4 separate regions of the Homo sapiens genome follow, and all the other regions are linked to region 1. The links are contacts of gene promoters, found by promoter capture Hi-C in blood cells and fetal thymus (Javierre and others, 2016). All regions are on one chromosome and are shown on one strand. The core of a region is centred on a gene start or on the middle of the fragment in contact, and the rest is flanking DNA. Distances in the headings are between cores, read along the strand shown. Region 1 holds the start of GTF2A1 (general transcription factor IIA subunit 1). Region 2 overlaps GALC (galactosylceramidase). Region 3 has its middle 8.0 kb from the start of HISLA. Region 4 overlaps ZC3H14 (zinc finger CCCH-type containing 14).

What was found. Contacts are between HindIII fragments. The CHiCAGO score rates a contact against its expected background, and 5 or more counts as called.
Region 2: a fragment that was not itself captured here is called in contact with the fragment with the promoter of GTF2A1 in region 1 in 6 of 17 cell types (total B cells, activated CD4 T cells, naive B cells and 3 more); the score reaches 11.1 in total B cells.
Region 3: a fragment that was not itself captured here is called in contact with the fragment with the promoter of GTF2A1 in region 1 in 4 of 17 cell types (activated CD4 T cells, total CD4 T cells, non-activated CD4 T cells and 1 more); the score reaches 13.9 in activated CD4 T cells.
Region 4: a fragment that was not itself captured here is called in contact with the fragment with the promoter of GTF2A1 in region 1 in 1 of 17 cell types (total B cells); the score reaches 7.5 in total B cells.

Annotation. Positions count from the first base shown.
Region 1 is chr14:81,219,669-81,222,455 of GRCh38, forward strand. GTF2A1 (general transcription factor IIA subunit 1) reads right to left here and starts at 1,291. Exons shown (of 9, transcript NM_015859.4): 1 at 821-1,291. The coding sequence starts at 850. It overlaps GTF2A1-AS1 (GTF2A1 antisense RNA 1), which reads left to right and starts at 1,550. Exons shown (of 2, transcript NR_135252.1): 1 at 1,550-1,857; 2 at 1,971-2,787. RefSeq lists enhancers at 1-13, 1-85 and silencers at 426-545, 1,076-1,125, 1,156-1,455. The HindIII fragment of the contact is 3,079 bases long and covers 1-2,284 here.
Region 2 is chr14:87,989,654-87,992,384 of GRCh38, forward strand. All of the region lies in intron 1 of GALC (galactosylceramidase), which reads right to left. Among named protein-coding and RNA genes, the nearest start is that of GALC, 2.2 kb to the right of the region's middle. The HindIII fragment of the contact is 2,330 bases long and covers 180-2,509 here.
Region 3 is chr14:88,015,051-88,017,981 of GRCh38, forward strand. No RefSeq gene overlaps it. Among named protein-coding and RNA genes, the nearest start is that of HISLA, 8.0 kb to the right of the region's middle. The HindIII fragment of the contact is 2,994 bases long and covers 1-2,799 here.
Region 4 is chr14:88,566,532-88,569,231 of GRCh38, forward strand. It overlaps ZC3H14 (zinc finger CCCH-type containing 14), which reads left to right. Exons shown (of 17, transcript NM_024824.5): 3 at 1,508-1,622. Among named protein-coding and RNA genes, the nearest start is that of ZC3H14, 4.8 kb to the left of the region's middle. The HindIII fragment of the contact is 216 bases long and covers 1,199-1,414 here.

The DNA.
Region 1 (2,787 bases), core at 41-2,540:
TGATCACACTGCGTTGGTGACTGAAAAGGTTATTTATGTGACTGCTTTTTGCAAACCTACGTGATCGCAAGTAACAAAAAGGGACCAACGGGAAGAAGTAGGTAAATTTCAAGGCGAAAGCGGGGACACTTGGACCACTGCAGGCTTTTTTTGTTTGTTTTGGTGCTTCTGCTAGGCGAAGATACGATGGGGGTCTTCCCCTTCGCCATTTTACCCATTCGGAAGGAACTGAGATAAGTGCTTTTCAACCAACCTTCGTCCTTTTTTTAAACATAAAATGGCCTCAGAGAAGGTTCCCAAAGCACAGCCGCCAAAAACAACCTAAGAAACCCCCAAAGTAACCATTAATCTTCCACTGCATTAAAGTGGATCACGATGGGTCTCGGGGGTTCGCCCGATTCCCCACACACAGTTTTTGTTCTGTAGCCACTCGGGGAGCCCTCGTCAAGCCAGCGCGGACGGGCCCCTCGGGGGGAAGCGGCGGCTCCCCTCCCGCCCTCCCTCCCGGCGGCCGGGTTCTGGGGCCGGGGCTGCGCGCCCGACCGGGCCCAACCGCCTCCGCGGCCCGGCCCGGCCCGCGGCGGCCCCAGGCCCCACCGGCGCCCCCGCCCTCCCCGCGCCGCGAGCCCTCGGCGCCCCCCCGCGCCCGCCGCCCGGCGCTCCGGCCCGATCCGCCCGAGGCGGGAAGCGGCGGCGGCGGCGGCCGCGCGGGCGGCTGAAGAGTCGAGGCCGGGAGTCGCCGCCGTCCCCGCCCCCGCCCGGTCCGGCCGTTGCTGCAGCCTGAACGAAGCCCCCGCCGGCCACCGAACCACGTCCTTACCACGGTGTTTGTATTTGCCGAGTTCGCCATTTCCACACACAACACAAACAAGAGGGGGCAACCCCAAGAAAACAAGATAAAAACAAAACCAAAAAAAAAAAAACTATAACACCCGGAGGGTGACCCAAATCACCGCAAGATTGGGGAAAAAATTTTAAACAAAATCAATCCTGAAGGAGTAGGGGAGAGCGGAGAGAGGAGGAGGAGGGGGGCACTCCTCCCGCAGCTGAAAACCTCGAGAATCGCCTTAAAAAAAAAAAAAAAGCCACGACCCTTCAGGGGTCCGGGGGGCGTTGCCCGCTCCCCACCCCGCGCCAAGGAGGGAAACCACCACCGGTCACCGCTCCCTGCGCCGCCGCTGCCGCCACCGGCTGCAGCTCCAGCCGTCCGGTCCGCCCGCTTCTCTCCTTTATATAGCGAGCCAACAAGCTGCGCGAGCCACCACCGCCGCCGCCGCCGCCGCCGAGAGACAGGGTGAAGGGGGAGGGAGGGGCGGAAAGGGCGGGGGCAGAGGTGGGCGGGGCTGAGCGCGAGACACCGCGAGAGCCGCGTGCGCAGGCGCGCCGGGGCGGAGGCCGCCGGCGAGCCGCGTTGTCACGCGCCGTGGCGGGTACTGGACTGGCGGAGCCCGGGGAGTGAAGTAGTGAAATCGGACCTACGCCTCTCCAACGCTCGCGTGATCACGTGGTTGGCACCCAGGCGGAAGTCTGCGGCAGTTCTTTGCGGTGAAGAACTTGCAAAGCGTTGCTGGAAAAGACGGGAGTTCTACTGACACTCCAGTCCAAAGCTAGGTGGGACCGCCTCCTGTCGCACGTTTCCGCCTGGTCCCGCGCTTTAGGAGCTAGGAAATGTGACAGAGGCGGTGCCTACTGCCTCGCTAGGAATGGCCGCGGAGGAGGACTGGTCACGTGGCGTGGCTTCCGGCCTCTGGCGCGTTCCTATTCGGGAAGGTTTTAAATGCGGAGTCATCTCTTGATTTGTCAGCGAGGCTTTGACTGTGAGCTTCGCGGCGTTCGCGCCTCACCGCCTCACCGAGGGTGGGTCTTTCGCGCGCAGAATTGTGTAGGATTTTCCAAAGGGAGTAAAAGCCGATCGGGGCCTACTTTTAACATTCCACAATTAGTAACGTCTGATTCGTTTGTTTCCACAGTGGGTACGCTGCGAAGACTAGGCTTATGTTACCCAGAGGTTAGTCCTCTACTAGGCCACGTACTTTAAATAATTTATCACGCTAGTGGAAATGCGGGGTGGAAGAAAACCCCACCAGCCTTTGGATTGTAACAGCACAGTAACTTTCCCTGGTTTTTAAAAATATTGCCAAAATACTGCGACTCCATGTGGCCAACGTATAGTGACTGATCACTTTGAAATGCATGCCCTTGACCCACCAACTCGCATGGCCTCTCGCTATAAGAGAGCAAGCCGGCTGTGTTCCATGTTCAATTCAATAAGTGCAATTCAATAAGCTTTTGACTTGTTCTGCCCAAGCAAATCCTGCCTTTATATCGACCTTGCAAGCAGAACAGAGAATGCTGTTTGGAAGGCAGAATTCATAGTACCTAGTTTTCTTGTCCCTGGGAATTTTGAGGGACTTGAAATGTCGCGTGGATGAGTGAGGGAGTTTGTCTTCCAGAGACAAAGCAAAACGAAACGTCAAAGTTCTGTGCTGGTGAAACCAGATTTGAAGAATATCAAAGGCGTCTTACCAAAGAGGAAAAAAAATGCATCTTGCCAAGACTTGAAGAAAGGGATTAGAGAAACCAGAGGCCTTGAATACTCAGAAAATGGGAGATTGTGAATGGGTGTAGAGGATATCTATGAACCTTGACATTTCTTTTCACGCCAAGTCCATTCCCCTGTTAACAGTTGCTTCCCAGTTTCCTGCACAGCTGCATGGTCTGGGACACTTAAAGAAAAAAATCACAGGAAATCAGTGTTCTTGGTATATTATATAAAGTTATGATTCT
Region 2 (2,731 bases), core at 95-2,594, 6.8 Mb after region 1:
CCACTGACTTACCCAGGCCCTCCTCACTTATGAGAACAGTATAAGTGGTCTCAGGACATCCCTTCTGCCTCTCCCTGTATTCTATCTTCCATGCTACTTACGAGAGTAACCTTCCCAAAATACAAATGTAATCACGAAACTCTTCCATGTAAACATGCTAAGACCGTCCCTTTCCCAAAAGCTTTCAGGATAAAGTTCAAATCGCTCAATTTTGCACCCAAATCCCTTAATTATTTGGCTCCTAACCCTGATACTTTATCCCTTATCACTCTCACACCTTCTACCTAGATGTATCAAACAACGTTTTCTATTCTTATGCCTGGAATGCACCCCACATCCTCTCTTGGACAACTCCAATTCACCTTTCAGCTCAAATTCCACCTCTGGAATTTGAAGGAAGGATGCCTTCTGGCCCTGCTCACTGATTTGATGTAAGCGCCTCTCCTTTGGCACCAGGTCCATATCTTTATTACAACACTTTGAACCCCGGCACTCCTTTATTTTTCTGACTCACCTCTTAGTTCCTTAAGGACATGGACTGTATCTTATTCAAGTTTGTATCCTCATTCTTTGTTATTCAATAAACACTTATTAAATATTTTATGGGTCTTTTGTTGCACTGGTACTGGCAACATAAATAGGAGTCTTTGAGTCAAATGGAGTTTGTATCCTGATTTCATCATTAATAAGCTATGTAATCATAGGCAAATTATTGTAAAGTGGGCTATCTTACTCATTCAACTGCTGTAAGACTAAAATTAGATGTATGTAAAGGACTTGGCACATTACCTGGCACATAGTAAGTTCTCAATAAAGGCAAGTGTTATATACACAAATTTTTTAAAATACATATTTCTCAAAGAGCTTACAACCTAGCAGAGGCTCCAATATTAAAATAGGCACTCTTTAAATGAACACTGTATAGGCACACTAATATATCCTTGACCCTAGGTAAACAATGCTTCCTGTCCTACGCTACGCCATTAATACTGTGCGTTTTGCTGTCTAGGGTTTCTTTTGCCCTCTATGCACTCCCACATTTAACAGAGAAAGTATCGGCTTTAGGCAAACACACCAATCATGTTATTGCAAACCTATAGCCACACCTAACACAACAGCATAAGTCAAAGGCAATATAACCAAATGTTAAAATGCACCATCTAGCAATAGCAAATCACGGGATTACTAACCACACTGCCTGAATGAGGCCTGGAACTGTTTACAGGCCCAGGAAAAAGCCTTGGGGACATTTCATCATTCAGTGGCCTTGAAATAACTTCCTCCTCCCTAATCCCTGAAAATGGTTATTAACCAAAATTAGTAATGTGCAAGACATCATCCTAAGTACTTTAGGTCTATCCTCACGGCGCTCCTACCATGCAGGTATAACTGTATCCCAAAAAAAGAAAGTGAGGCAGAGAGGAGTTATAATAGATAACCCACCAAGGCCACACAGTGAAGTGGCAGAACCCAGAAGACACTCTTGGCAATCTTCTCTTTAGTCTACATTCTTTTTGTTTTGTTTCGCTTTGGTTTGGTTTTTGGGTTTTTTTGTTTGTTTGTGTTTTGAACGGAGTCTCACTCTGTCGCCCAGGCTGGAGTGCAGTGGTGTGATCCCGGCTCACTGCAACCTCCGCCTCCCGGGTTCAAGCGATTCTCCTGCCTCAGCCTCCCGAGTAGCTGGGACTACAGGCGCGTGCTACCAAGACTGGCTAATTTTTTGTATTTTTAGTAGAGACGGGGTTTCACCGTGTTAGCCAGGATAGTCTTGATCTCCTGACCTCGTGATCCGCCCGCCTCGGAAGCCCGAAGTGCTGGGATTACAGGCGTGAGCCACCGTGCCCGGCCCTACATTCTTAACTACTTACTGTACCATACCGCTTTCCCTCTCTGACATGAAGATTAAATGACAGCACTCTAAACACTTACTGGCACAACCTGGGCTAGGAACCAAGGACTCCACAAAGAAGTTTAAAGTGGTATGCAAATATAATGTTGCAAGAATTTTCATTATTTAGTGAGTTCCTATGAGGAGTAATGAACTATATAGGGATACTAATAATTGTATATTCTATCAGATTAGGTAGGAGTTTCCTACTTTGAATTACGAAATGATTCTTCTCATCTTAGTAATTTTAAACTGGGCTTAATAAACCTAATGGAAACAAAGACTTCCATTTTTCGGTAAGCTCTTACCCTAGATATAGTATCACAAGTAAAGCTATAAAAAAGATGGGGCCTCACTCCATGAAATATTGGCTGTTTCAGGTTTAGCCCAAAAACATAAAAAGGAGAATAGTAGTAGCAAAGAATAAATGCATTAACTCATCGGCCCACAGGTTTCCCCTGAAATACACATCAGCACGGCTGGAGAGATTGCAAATTAGGGAATGAAAACATAAAAATCAAAAAGGATCAGCTAACTCCAGGGGGAAAAAAATTTCCCCTAGCAGAAGGTTATATCTTGTGGTCACACTACAGACCAGGTCATCCTTGCAGCAGGCATTCAAGCTTGTTCTGAGTTGAATGTAAGGATGCAAGCTCCATCCAACTCAACCCCAAAAATCCGAGTTCAACCTTAACATTTTCAAGAAACATTAGCCCTAGATGTAATTTCGGATACAAAACCAAAAAACAAAAACCTTCTCACCCAAAGGTCGGCCACCATGAAGCCCATGGGCCCAGAGGGAGTACCCGGTAGTTTCAGGCCGCTCGCTTATCTTCCTTTTAA
Region 3 (2,931 bases), core at 53-2,552, 6.8 Mb after region 1:
ACCTCGATTGAAAATTTAGAAACAATTCTTGTTCTGATCTCCAGAAAGGACAATTTTAAGGGTATTCTCACTGGTAATCACAATTGTTTGTTGGATAAATAAATAATAAGTTAATTAATCAAACAAACTAAAAATGCTGCAGTTTTACAGTTTGTCCTAACCTCAGGATTCAGTTCCTAAAACCTTTAGGGCTATTTGTATTCCTGGTGGAAAATTTTAAGATTATATGGGAAAGTAAGGTTAAAGAGAAAGAGTCTCCCTTTAGGAAAGCTGTTATTAATAATTTTTACATTTGCTGAACTAAAATAGTAGGAACAAACATTAGCAAATGACATTTTATTCATCTTAAATTAGTAGTAACAAGAATTGTCATGTTAATTTCCAGCTATCATTCCTTGCTCATGAGAAATGTTTTTAGGATATCCCTTCCTTAAATTTTTAGTAAGCTGTTCATCAGTTGACTTACTTTTGTTGCAGACTACACAGTGGCATGAATCTCTGTTCATGGAATCAGTGCTGCGAGAAAACATTGTTACATTTTCTTTATCAGCTTAATTGTAAATCCCAGCCCACATACCACCAAGCTATAGGAAATTCCATCTCAGGCATTATGGGATTGTCTTCCCCTTTTTGGTTTACACCAGAATCGGGAGGTTTACATGATGCTAAGAAAATGAAAGGGGTCTTTGATTTATAGTCACCAGTGATGGTAATATTGCCTAACCTTTTAGTGGTTGCTTGATTCCTTTACGGCCTCCCTGAATCTCTTGGGGCACAGGGCAGGACCTGATAGGAGCCAGTTAATGGCCCAGATTCTTGTGCATCAGGTAGAGTTTCCTTCAAAATGTCGTATATCCTCATGCGAACTAAAAATAAAATCCTAAAATTCTAAGCCCCCCAACTGACTGAAAAGACCCCTCTTGGCTGGGGGACCCCAGAGAAACCTTAAAAACTGAGTTCCTAGCCATGACAGAATGGGAGCTTGTACACACCTCATTGCACCCACTCTGTTTTACAACTTAGACACAACAACTGACCAGTGTTAATGTTAAAATGGAGATCATAAGACTGACAAAATGGACTCTTTATGGCTATAAGATACTAAATTGTAAACAAGACCTAAGGTCACGCCAAGCAAGAGTTAAGTCACATACCCCCGTACTTAAAGAATAAACTATGTTCCACCTGCCACAAGATTTTTCTTTTTCTCTAGCAGCTAAACAAGCACTGGCCTCGAGATAAGAAATATTGAAACAATTACAGCTCACCAATTGCCAGATGCAGCCTGATTTCACCCCTCTGTTCCACAAGCCATCACTACAGCTCTGATGTGACAAGAGGTTGATTTTGGTAACTTTCTCTTGATGAAAGACCACCAACCATGGACTGGTTCTGGCTGGTTTACAGAGGCTGCGCACTTGAATGCCTCTGTGTCTCTGCTTCACCTTTTGACATACAAGGCCTAATTGTAATGCATTTATATGTTAAGTCTCCACACAAAAGTGAACATGCAACATGCATGTTTATTCAGTGCACACGCGTTAGGACACCCTTCATGAATATTTATAGCTACTCTTATAACCTGCTAAATATTTATACTTGGCTAACCTGTTCAGCATAAATCCCTGTTCCATCCTCCCCTCCCTCAATGTACCTGCCTTCTGGCTTCTACCAGAGGCTACGTTTCCCAGCCTGTCAAAATGACCACTCTGCAGGCTGTAACCCTTTATGAGAAATCAACTCTCCATTCTAAATGTAACATCTCATAATGTTTCAGCTGACACTTCAGAGCTGCCTCTTTTTAGGAATGCCTGACATCCAGACCTACATGGTTCTTGGCTTTAGCAATGGAGCACGTAGTACCTAAATAAGTCAATCAAAGCCACAGTGATTGGTTCAGTGGTGGGCATGTGACCGAACTTGCTTAGATTCTGGGACAAAGACTCTTTCTTTTAATCTGGATGTGGTGGTATGTGAATGAGATGCCTGGAATCCTTGTGGCCATTTTGTTAACATGAAATAGCCAATGCATGGGAAAAAGGAGAGCTCAGGGAATCACACAACACTGGAGCTGTGTCCTAAAGATACAGAGAGTCTTGAATATTGCAGGTACATGAACCAAATACACTTCCTTATTATTTTAATGTGAATCTGGTATTTTTGTTCCTTGAATCCTGAAGGATCCTAATGGAATTTGGAACATGGAAGTGAGGGTGATGTTACAGACTCCAGACTGTTGAATAGGCAGAGCTGAAGAGCTGCAGTGGAGAAGGCAATGCCAAGATAGAGCTAGCTTGTGATGTTAGTAACCCATGTTAAGTGGTAGCAAAATCTCTGGTTAAACTATTTCCTGCTATATCCCGAGACTCAGATAATGTCCACCAAGGGTCTGGAATCAAGACTTTGGAAGGAAAAATTCAAAATGTTGGTGGTTTTTGGCTTCCTCTTATAGCTTTCAATAAACTGCCACAAAAGACAGATAAAATAATACAATTTTTTGAGAGCTTTTCTGTTAAATTTTTCAAATCCAGAAAACACTGCTGCCCTGTGGGGCCTACACACAGAAACAGTGTGTTTTATGCTTCAGGAAAAGGGTAAACTTTAGCTAGAAAAAGCAAGTCAGCATTGTTTGTGAGTCACTAGTGAGTGGAGTCTCAAAAGCCAGACACTATGGGGAAATAAAAGAACTTTTTAAACCTCTTAGGCTCCCATCTCATATCAAGAAGTAGGCCTGGCTGACTTAAAATTGGAGTTTTCTCTATGCCAGGGGGTAGTGAGAACCAATCATGATGTAAACGAAGCTTCTATTATTCAGGGAAATGAAAAAGCCTGGGCTCCTGACCGCAGTGGTCTAAGGGGAGGAGGCAAAGAAGAGTTAAAATGAGGATGTCGGAGACAAATGTTGATCCTCATGGCCTGAGATCAATAGAA
Region 4 (2,700 bases), core at 57-2,556, 7.3 Mb after region 1:
GAACTGCATTTTTTATAGTTTTCTTTGAAACAAAAAAAGTACTTCTGAAATGAACCTTTCTGCCTGCATAGAAATATTACAAGTATTTAAGGTATTAAAGAAATTTGTCACAGCATGGTGGTTCACGCCTGTAATCACAGCACTTTGGGAGGCCGAGGTGGGTGGATCACTTGAGGTCAGGAGTTCGAGACCAGCCTAGTCAACATGCTGAAACCTGGTGTCTACTAAAAATACAAACATTAGCTGGGTGTGGTGGCAGGTGCCTGTAATCCCAGCTACTCGGGAGGCTGAGGCAGGAGAATCGCTTGAACCCAGGAAGCAGAGCTTGCAGTGAGCCGAGATTGTGCCACTACACTCCAACCTGGGAGACAGAGCAAGACTCTGTCGTAAAAGAAAAAAAAAAAAAAGAGAACTGGAATGGAGTTTTGAGGGTCAGAGATTAGAGTTCCTGATAACAGCTTTTGCTTCCTTATCTTCTTAGTGAGGTTTTTGTTTTTTTGTTCTTTTAAATCCTAGACCTCACTCTCATAATCACTGTAGGATTACCACTAGGAGGGTGTTTTTTGGCTTCTTTTATTTATTTTATTTATTTATTTTTTTTTGAGACAGAGTCTTGCTCTGTTGCCCAGGCTGGAGTGCAGTGGCAGGATCTGAGCGCACTGCAAGCTCCGCCTCCTGGGTTCACACCATTCTCCTGCCTCGGCCTCCCGAGTAGCTGAGACTATAGGCGCTCACCACCACACCCGGCTAATTTTTTGTATTTTTAGTAGAGACAGGGTTTCACTGTGTTAGCCAGGATGGTCTCAATCTCCTAACCTTGTGATCTGCCCACCTTGGCCTCCCAAAGTGCTGGGATTACAGGCATGAGCCACCGCGCCTGGCCTTTTTTCTTTTTTTTTTTTTTTTATCCTAGACCTCACCCTTATAATCATTGTAGGATTACCACTGTGAGGGTAAAACCGTGCATTGAGTTGACATTATTTAATGTTAAAATTGATTTTTTTAAATGATGTGGAGCTTTTGGGTCTATTTGTTTATTCGATGTTGCTACAAGTTTGTTACTGTGAGTAATTGAAACCTGCCTTTAGCAAGGGTAAAGATGTTCACTTGAGAAATGAGTGTTATTTTGAAACTTTGCAAATTAAAACTAAACAAAACTCAATTCTTTTTCTTGGGGAATGTTCAAATATTTCCCATAAGCTTCTTTGAAATTAATAAGCATTATTAAAAAGATTCAAGGAAGTGAATGCATGCTCAAGTTTGACCCTATAATTCAGAATGTTTAGTTTTGTAAGTATCAATTATTCTTAATTTCCATTCTTCTAGTATTTGAAATACCTGTGGAATGAAGAGAAAAAAATTAAAGCTAAGCCATCTTGTCCAATGTAATTCCAGTAGAGCTCTGCGACTCTAAAGCTTAGAGCTACATCTATATTTTCAAGCACATCAACTTTAAGAAGAAAGTTTTGAGGAAACAAAGTTTTGATCTACCTTTCCTTTTAAATAGATGAAGAACTTCCTGATTACATTATGGTGATGGTGGCCAACAAGAAAAGTCAGGACCAAATGACAGAGGATCTGTCCCTGTTTCTAGGGAACAACACAATTCGATTCACCGTATGGTATGTTTCTGAATTTTTGTGCCTCAGACCAAAGTTTGGCACAAGCCTGAGTTGATATTCTGTCCAAAGAGAGGTTCTTGACACTTGAGTTAGGTTTACTTTGGAGAGGCAGTTTGTGAGTGATGAGAGCACAGCCTCTGTATTAGTCCATTTTCACAGTGCTATGAAGAAATACCCGAGACTGGGTAATTTCTAAAAGAAAGAGGTTTAATTGACTCAGAGTTCCACATGGCTGGGGAGGCCCCAGGAAGGGGAAGCAAGCACCTTCTTCACAAGTCGACAGGAAAGAGAAGAGTGAAGGAGGAACTTCCAGAGACTTATATAAAATCATCAGATCTTGTGAGAACTCACTGTCTCTTGAGAACTCGGGAACTCACTGTCTCTTGAGAACTCACTATCATGAGAACATCATGGGGGAAACCACCCCCATGACCCAGTCACCTCCCTCCCTTGACAGGTGGGGATTACAATTCAATATAAGATTTGGGTGGGGACACAGAGCCAAACCTTATCAGCCTCTGAAGCCAGACAGCCAAAGTTGAATCCTGGCTGTGTCTTGCCTTGGTTTCTCTAGCTATAAAATGGAAATAGTACAGCCACTTGCTTTATAAAATTATTATTGAGGATCAAATGGGCTAATATGTGTAAAGTACTTATAGGTGTCCCTAGCATTTTCCTAAGGAATTCTTAGTATATGTCGGCTATACTTAATATGTTTCTTTTGTAAACTTCTATATCTTTTTTTTTGAGACAGGGTCTTGCTCTGTCACCAGGCTGGAGCACAGTGGTACAATCATGGCTCGCTGCAGCCTCGATCTCCTGGTTTCAAGTGATCATCCCATTGCAGTCCCCTCCTTCCTGAACTCCCATGCCTGACTAATTTTTAAATTTTTTGTTCAGACAGGGTCTTAGTATGTTGCCCTGGATGCTCTTGAACTCCTGGGCTCAAGCAGTCCTCCTGCCTTGGCCTTCAGAAGTCTTGGGGTTATAGGTATGAGCCACTGCACCTGGCCAGCTTCTGTATCTTATAGTTCCTTTTCCCCCACCAAAACCAGTTACAGATGTTTTTTTGAACTGG